Linked DNA regions of Homo sapiens: region 2 is linked to region 1. Evidence: promoter capture Hi-C in 16 types of primary human blood cells and fetal thymus (Javierre and others, 2016). All regions are on one chromosome and are shown on one strand. Each heading gives the region's core, a stretch centred on a gene start or on the middle of the fragment in contact. The rest is flanking DNA. Distances are from core to core; before and after follow the strand shown. Region 1 holds the start of CPPED1 (calcineurin like phosphoesterase domain containing 1). Region 2 overlaps SNX29 (sorting nexin 29).

Region 1 (4,200 bases), core at 589-3,088:
CTCTGATTTCTTCTCAGGGCTCCCCACTGGCTGAGCCCAAAGGAAAACCAAAAGGCAAGGAGCCCACCGATGTAGCTCACGGAGGGCAAACCCCTGGGGCATGGTGGGGAAGGGAGAAAGGTTTGGAGAGGCAAAGGGAAGATATTCAGCATATACATCAACAGAATGTATAAGGTATATAATCATCCAATGGAATGTTGCCCAGCAAGAAAAGAGCAAAATCTTCATGTTGGACAAAAAAGACAAGGTCCATTAAAATACAGTCGTCCCAGGCCGGGCGCGGTGGCTCAGGTCTGTAATCCCAGCACTTTAGGAGGCTGAGGACGGCGGATCACCTGATGTTGTGAGTTCGAGACCAGCCTGGCCAACATGGAGAAACCCCATCTCTACTAAAAATACAAAATTAGCCGGGCGTGGTGGTGCGTGCCTATAGTTCCAGCTACTCCAGAGGCTGAGGCAGGAGAATCGCTTGAACCCGGGAGGCGGAGGTTACAGTGAGCCAAGATCGTGCCACTGCACTCCAGCCTGGGCAATAAAGCAAGACTCCGCCTTAAATGAATAAATAAGGTTTTACCATAGAATTACCGGAGAAACCTACTTTAGATAAGGTAGCAGGTAAAGTCTCTGAGGAAGTGAATGAACTTTAAAATGAGGTGTGACGGTTGAGAGAGCCAGGCTCACCAACCCTGCTAAAGAAGCAGAAAACAGCAAGCGCCAAGACCCTCAGGGAAAGAACGGCCTTGGCCCTTTTAAATGCAGTTCAAACAAGGGCAACAACAAAACCTGTTGCAGAACTGGGCAAGAGAGAGAATGACAACCCTGAAGGAAGTGGACACAAGCCTGATCATATAGGGCATTTAGGGTGACTTCCCTGGGGGTATAAAGCTGGTGAGAGCCTGGGAGGCGATCTGGCTGCAGGCAGCAAAAAGCCACAGAGGGGAATCAACAAACCAGAAACAAACCTCCCTCTTTACTTAGCACCTAGCATGCGTCCAACACCGGGTTACAAAAATACTTTTGATCTGTTTACGCTTCCAACAACCCTATGAGGCAGGTATTATCAAACCCATTTTTAAGGCAAAGCAGATAATCTAAATCCAAAATCCAAGCACTTCACTACGACTCTCGAATGCCCTCCCTCTCTACTGCTCTGATGGGGCAGTGTTACCATTTCGGTGAATGACTTAAATAAACGTCATTATGGAGTACAGAATACATAACGGTGAACAACCTTAATAAAACCGACACCCTCTAACATGCACCGAACGCTTATCCAGTAACACCCACAAGTATTCCCGTTTCACAGATGTGGAAGCTGAGGCCAAGATGCTAATGCACAGCTTGGAAACCAGGTCTCGCTGCAGAGTCCAAGCTGTCATTAACTATGCTTTGCTACCCTCCTCTTACTTCCCTTCTCTGGGGGAAGTTAGGTCAAGGCCAAGGAGGCTCCTAGACCAGATCGCTCTCTCGGCCTCGCCTCTCAACTGCGCCCCTGGAATCCCTAAGAGCAGGCTTTGATGCAGCTATGGCGGCTCCCAGGCCCCGGTGCAGCCCCGGATGGTGTCCGACTGGCGGAGCGCACACCTGAACAAAAGGTTCCCCCGGCGGAAGGTTCCGCAGCCCCAGAGTCCCCTCCCCGGGTGAGGGGCGGGCAGTACCTGCGGGAAACGCGGCCAGGGTCCTGCCCCTGGCTCTGTGGAAAACACCCCCCGCCTCTGCAGCCGACATGGCGAGCGAGTTTCTGGCCTTCACTTAGAACACTGCGTGGGTGGAAGCCGCGCGACTTCACACAGAACAACCGCTGGACCTGTCCCGCTTTGGGCGACGCCCTTTGATCTCGGGGCGGGACTGGGGCGGGACGGGGAGGGGCCCGGTGGCTCGGGGCGCCACTAGTGCTGCCTGGGCGGAGCGGAGGCGCCAGCGGCCCCTCTGGGATCGACCTGCGCGCCTGGCGAGTGGAGACTGTCTAGGGCACGCGTGGGCGGGGATAAGGCTTTGGGGTCAGTCCTTCCCTAAAGGCAGAGTTACTAGATTTAACAAGTAAAAATGCAGGACTCCCGGTTAAATTGGAATTTCAGATTTTTTTTTTTAAAGAATGACTGACTTGGTATAAATATGTCCTATGCAGTATTTGGGAGCTACTTACGTTAAATTTTTTTTTCATTATCTGAAATTCCAATTGAACTGGGCGTCCTAATTTTTTTAAATTTTTCTCTTTTTGCAGGTTTGAATGGAAGCGTCCTGATTTTTTTTTATCTGACAACTCTATCATAAAGTCAGAAGGAGCCACTGGGGTGGCTTACGCCTGTAACCCCAGCTCTTTGGGAGGCCAAGGAGGGAGGATCGCTTGAGTCCAGGTGTTGGAGACCAGCCTGGGCAACACGGCGAGAGACCTTGCCAATACAAAAAAAAAAAAAAAAAAGATGAAAAGGTGGACGTCTTGGAAGACTGTCTCAGCCTGAACTTCCCAGTGGCTGCCACCATCTTTCTGTTATTATCTTTGCTTGCTATGCACCAGGCAGGGCGCTAAGCACTTTGCACGCTGCTCACTTAATCCCCACTACAGCCCTAGGAGGTGGTGCTGTTATTAGCTGCATCCGTCATTTGGGGAAACTGACGCTCAGAGAGATGAACGAACTTGCACAAGGTGACACACATCTAGAGAGGTAGTAAAGCTGCGAGTAACCAAATTAGTGTCTCTTCAACTCAAGAGCCATTGTAGTGAACTACTTAGCCAGCATTTGTCAAACGTGTTGAAAATACAAATTCCAGAATGGACCTATTGAATCCAAATCTCTATGAAAATGATCTGTGTTTTGTTGTTGTTGTTGTTGTTTTGAGACAGGGTCTCACTCTGGTTGCCTAGGCTGGAGTGCAGTGGCACAATCTCTGCAGTCTCGATCTCCTGGGCTCAGGTGATTCTCCCACCTCAGCCTCCTAAGTGGCTGGCACTATTGGCGTGCGCCACCATGCCTGGCTAATACTTTGTATTTTTAGTAGAGACGAGTTTGACTATGTTGCCCAGGCTGATCTGGAACTCCTGAGCTCAAGCAATCCACCCACCCGGGCCTCCTAGAGTGCTAGGATTACAGGCATGAGCCACAGTGCCTGGCCTGAAAATGATCTGTTTTTAACAAGCACTGCAGGGGAGCTCTTATGATCTTACAAATTTGGGAAATTCTTTTCTAAACTAGCTGCCTACATCCAAAGCACTGTTTGAGTAGCTAATATGGCCATAACTACTGTTCTCTAATCCTTGACAAGAGTCACCCATGAATCATAGTGGTTAAGAGTATAAATGCCTATGAGTCCTGGAGTCAGTGGGCTTGGATTAATCCCGGTTCTACCCACTTACTGGTTGTATGCTCTTGAAAATTGCATAGTTTCTCTATGCCTCAGTTTCCCTATCTGTGAAATGGAAACAATAGTAGCATCTAGGTCATAGGGTTGCAGAAAGGCTTAAATGAGTTCATGTATCAAAGTGCTTAGAATAATAGTTCTAATAACAAATGGTAGGTACTCAATGAATATTAGCCATTGTTATTATTAATCAATCACTATAACCCTATTCCCTGAACATGGCCTGGCCCAGAGGAGGAGTCCCAAGAAATGTGAAGGAGGCCGGGCGCAATGGTTCAGGCCTGTAATGCCAGCACTTTGGGAGGTGGAGGTGGCGGATCATGAGGTCTACAGATCGGGACCACCCTCGCCAACATGGTGAAACCTCATCTCAACTAAAAATACAAAAATTAGCTGGGTGTGGTGGTGCACGCCTGTAGTCCCAGCTACTCGGGATGCTAAGGCAGGAGAATCACTTGAACCCGAGAGGCAGAGGTTGCAGTGAGCCGAGATCCCGCCGCTGCACTCCAGCCTGAGCGACAGAGTGAGACTGTGTCTTTAAAAAAAAAAAATGTGAAGGGGAAGCTGAGCACAATGGCTCATGCTTGTAATCCCAGCATTTTGGGAGGTTTAGGCAGGAGGATTACTTGAGCCCAGGAGTTCAAGACCAGCCTGAGCAACATAGTGAGAACTCATCTCTATTAAAAAATTTTTTTTAATTAAAAGAAATGTGAAGGAGAGAATGAATTATAGAAACAGACCCTGCCTCTTATTCACTAGCTTTGCAGTCATACTGGCCATTCAGTTCATTAAACATGCAAATTAATTTCCCTCTCTGCATATGCAGTTCTTTCTGCTTAA
Region 2 (4,200 bases), core at 972-3,471, 720 kb before region 1:
TTTGGGGTCCCAGGGTGCTATTACATCCTTATTTTCAAACCTAGCTCTAGAGTGGAACTTCCTGACTACCGTAAACCATATTAGATGCCATGGTCTTACCTGGAACAGTCAAGGGTTCTGCTCTCTCAAAATGACATTGCTTGTAGGAAGCTTGTCGCAGTTAGTTCAGTGTCAGAAGGAATTGGTGTTGCCAGACCCTTCCAGGGGGTGGAGTCTTTTTTTGCTATTTATTTTAGAAAATGTGACTAGGCATGGTGGCCCATGCCTGTAATCTCAGCACTTTGGGAGGCCAAGGTGGGAGGATTACTTGAGGCCGGGAGTTCAACACCACCAGTCTGGGCAAGTGAGACCCTGTCTTTACAAATAAAACAACAACAAAAATTATCCAGATGTGGTGGTGCATGCCTGTAGTGTCAGCTACTTGGGAGACTGATGTGGGAAGATCACTTGAACCCAGGAGTTCAAGCCTTCAGCGAGCTGAGATTGCACCACTGCACTCCAGCCTAGTTAACGGAGTGAGAACCTGTCTTAAAAAAAAAAAAATTGGAAAATGCAACAGTAAATGAAAAAAGAAAATCAGTCTTAACCCTCAACTTCATTATGTTGTTGATGTTTTGGTACTTTTCCTCCTAGTCATGGTGTGTGTGTGTGTGTGTGTGTGTGTGTGTGTGTGTGTGTGTATCTCTGTTAACCATGTGATGACCGTGCTGTTCTCACCAAAGACACTAAACTTTATTTTTCATGTTGTAAATTATTTGTAAACATACAGTTGATTCTTATTATTCCCAGTAGTTGTATTCTATAAAGTTGCTATGAAGACTGAACCAGTGCTCCTAGGGGAAGTACATGGTTAAGTTGCTTTGAGGCTCTGGTCACACATTTTGTTTTTGAGATGAACTGTTGCTCTTTTGCCCGGGGCTGGAGTGCAGTGGCGTGATCTTGGCTCACTGCAACCTCTGTTTCCTGGGTTGAAGTGATTCTCCTGCCTCAGCCTCCCAAGTAGCTGGGATTACAGGCATGTGCTACCACACCCAGATAATTTTTGTATTTTTAGTAGAGAAGGGGTTTTGCCATGTTCGCCAGGCTGGTCTCGAACTCCTGACCTCATGTGATCCACCCGCCTCGGCCTCCCAAAGTATTGCGATTACAGGCATGAGCCACCACACCTGGCCTGGTCACAGCATTTTTATCAACTGATCAACACATAACCTGGTTTTATGTCTGTTCCTGTTTAAAGACACCTTGTTTAATGTATGCAGTTGATTCATTAACATTGAATTCACAGCCAGCAGCACTGTAAGCCATGCCTGAATGAAGCATCTCTAACTCACAAATTATCTCCATACGGCACATCACAGCCTTCCTGTGCTTAGGAACTGTCGGCAGTACCACTTCAGCACTGTGCTTGGGGACATTTTAAACAATAAAATCAAGTGGAAAAAAAGGCCGGGTGTGGTGGGTCATGCCTGTAATCCCAGCACTTTGGGAGGCTGAGGCAGGTGGATCACTTGAGGTCAGGACTTTGAGACCAGTCTGGCCAACTTGGCGAAACCCCATTTCTAGTAAAAATACAAGAATTAGTCGGGTGTGGTGGTGCGGGCCTGTAATCCCAGCTACTTGGGAGGCTGAGGCACAAGAATCGCTTGAACCCAGGAGGTGGAGGTTACAGTGAGCCGAGATCACGCAAAAGAAAGAAAAGTGGAAAAAAAAATGCTAAAAACATGGCAGTAAATAGACAGCAAAGAGGATGCTTGTTTACGGTGTGAGATCTGAGGTCCCAGCTGTTCGACTTCAGCTGAGATTATGCACATTAGGGAGTGAAATTATTGGCCTCTGCACGTGTTCATGAATGATTGTGAAAGCACCTCAAGTATTGACTTTGGGGTTACAAATAAATTTTAGTGCGTAGATGAATTTCCAAATACGGAATCTGCAGATAACGAGGCCTGACTAATTTCCAATGACTGCCTCTATCCCTTCTAGTAGAGGTACCGGAGTAAACCGACCTCTGCTAGTTTTTGGAATGGTGAGGGTGTGTACTTTCAGTGGCCGAGTGTAACTTCCTCCTGCCTGCTTTTTCCTAGTGTGGAAGCCAGCTCTCCAGGCCACGGAAGTCCTCTGAGCAGCCTGTTACCTTCTGCCTCAGTGCCAGAGTCCATGACAATTAGTAAGTACTTTCGCAGCCCCCTCCACCAGCTCTGGGATGACTTCTGGCCCACGTCTCATGGCGGTGCCTTTGTGCTTCTAACCCTGTGACTGTGGGTTCACGTCAGGTGTGTACGTCCCTGGTTGTAGACTGGAGGTGTGGTACGTGCTTGTGGATATCCAGAACCGTGGTTAATGCGTGGCGCTTGGGCGTGTGCGCGCTAAAGGGCGTGCCTCAGGATGGAGCAGCCTTGCCGTAGACTTCTGTGGTTCCAGGTTTTGGGGTTTGCCTCCCATAATGCAGTTAGCTACAGAGGACCTATTCTAGTTGGATTTCCTTTGTAACTCTGAAGGACTCATTTTTGTAAGTGAAGAAGAATATGTCTCTCCAAGATGATTAAACTTTGCTAATGATCAGGCTTCAACTGTTTCCAACTTTACTACCTAGAAAAAGTATTAGAGATATAGCAAGGAAGACTAGGTTTGAATGGCTTTGTATAACAAAGAATAAACCAACTGTTATGTAAACTGACGGGTGCTCCTGGTATCTCACTGGTGGCTTGAGCCAGCATTTGTCCCATGGCCTCCCCTGGAGGCAGAGGGGGCACTTGTTCCCAATTAAAAAAAAAAATTAGCTTTTGTTGCTAAGGAAGGAAGAAGGCGTTTGGGAGGCACCTAGCATTTTCTGATTCAAGGGTGAAGCAGGAAGTGAGCAGACACTATGTAAACCAACAGTTGGTTTATTTTTTGTACACAAAGCCATTCAGACCTACTCTTCTTGAAGTTCCGGTGGTTAAGGAGATGTGATGGAAATTTCTCTCTATCCAGAGGTAGATGGGCTGGGGCTGGTATGTGGCTCCACGGCCATCAGAGACCGGGACTCCTCCTGTCTTGCCTTGTAGACCAAAATAGCCATTTTAGCTCCAGCCATTTCATTCTCATTCCAGGCGGCAGGAAGGAGGAGAGAGCAGAGAGACTTCGTCTATTTCTACATATAGGATTCAGGGGCCTGAGCTTGGATAGGGAAAAAAATTACAATGTTTTTCATTTAGCTCTGGGTGAAATATAGTATTTTCTTCAATCATGATCATTCTATTTTGATGTAATTGGTTTCCTTTGTGATATGGTATGTTTTATATATTTTAATACATTTTCCTGAATAGGAGCCCATGGTTATTCCTAGATTACAAAATGGGCTCTTGGTACAAAAACGTTGAAGCTCCCCCGACCTTCACTAGAAGGTGCTTACAGTATACCACTCGTGTCTTGGGCCAGCATTCATGTCATGGTCCCCCTTGGCTGCAGAGGGGGCAATTGTTCTTGATAAAAAGGAAATTAGTTTTTGTTGCTAAGGAAGGAAGAAAGAGTTTGGGAGGCACCCAGCATTCTTTGATTCAAGGGTGAAGCAGGAAGTGAGCAGACACCGTAAGGCTGCTGCGTGGGAACGGCTGGCCGCACTTTTTGTATGTGAGCATGTGTGGTTTACTGTGGCGCTGCTCAGCCCTGAACTCCGCTGAGCAGGTGTTAATAGATCACTCAGTCCATGGGACACAGGGTGGGTGAGTATGTAGCTGGCTGCTTTTCACCTGTCAATCTTTTGTTTACCACAGTACTGTTACTTACCCTATAGTTTACTTTATTATTCATTTTTATTTATTTATTTTTTTGTAGAGTTGAGGTCTCACCATGCTGTCCAGGCTGGTCTTGAACTCCTAGGATCAAGCGATCCACCCGCCTCAGCCTTCCAAAGCGCTGGGATGACAGGCATGAGCCACCGTGCCCGGCCTACTACAGTTTACTTTTTTTTTTTTTTTTGAGACAGAGTCTTGCTCTTGTCTCCCAGGCTGGAGTGCAATGGCACGATCTCAGCTTACTGCAACCTCCACCTCCTGGGTTCAAGCGATTCTCCTGCGTCAGCCTCCCAAGTAGCTGGGATTACAGGCCCACGCCCGGCTAATTTTTGTATTTTTAGTAGAGATGGGGTTTCGCCATGTTGGCCGGGCTGGTCTTGAACTCCTGACCTCATGATCTGCCGGTCTCAGCCTCCCAAAGTGC

Evidence for each region. Contacts are between HindIII fragments. The CHiCAGO score rates a contact against its expected background, and 5 or more counts as called.
Region 2: a contact is called between a fragment that was not itself captured here and the fragment with the promoter of CPPED1 in region 1, in 5 of 17 cell types (naive CD8 T cells, naive CD4 T cells, total CD4 T cells and 2 more). The highest score is 13.0, in naive CD8 T cells.

Annotation. Positions count from the first base shown.
Region 1 is chr16:12,802,049-12,806,248 of GRCh38, forward strand. It overlaps CPPED1 (calcineurin like phosphoesterase domain containing 1), which reads right to left and starts at 1,839. Exons shown (of 4, transcript NM_018340.3): 1 at 1,659-1,839. The coding sequence starts at 1,728. RefSeq lists enhancers at 19-98, 1,421-1,790 and a silencer at 1,871-1,920. The HindIII fragment of the contact is 13,841 bases long and covers 1-4,200 here.
Region 2 is chr16:12,076,749-12,080,948 of GRCh38, forward strand. SNX29 (sorting nexin 29) reads left to right here. Exons shown (of 21, transcript NM_032167.5): 11 at 2,085-2,167. Among named protein-coding and RNA genes, the nearest start is that of SNX29, 100 kb to the left of the region's middle. The HindIII fragment of the contact is 4,146 bases long and covers 149-4,200 here.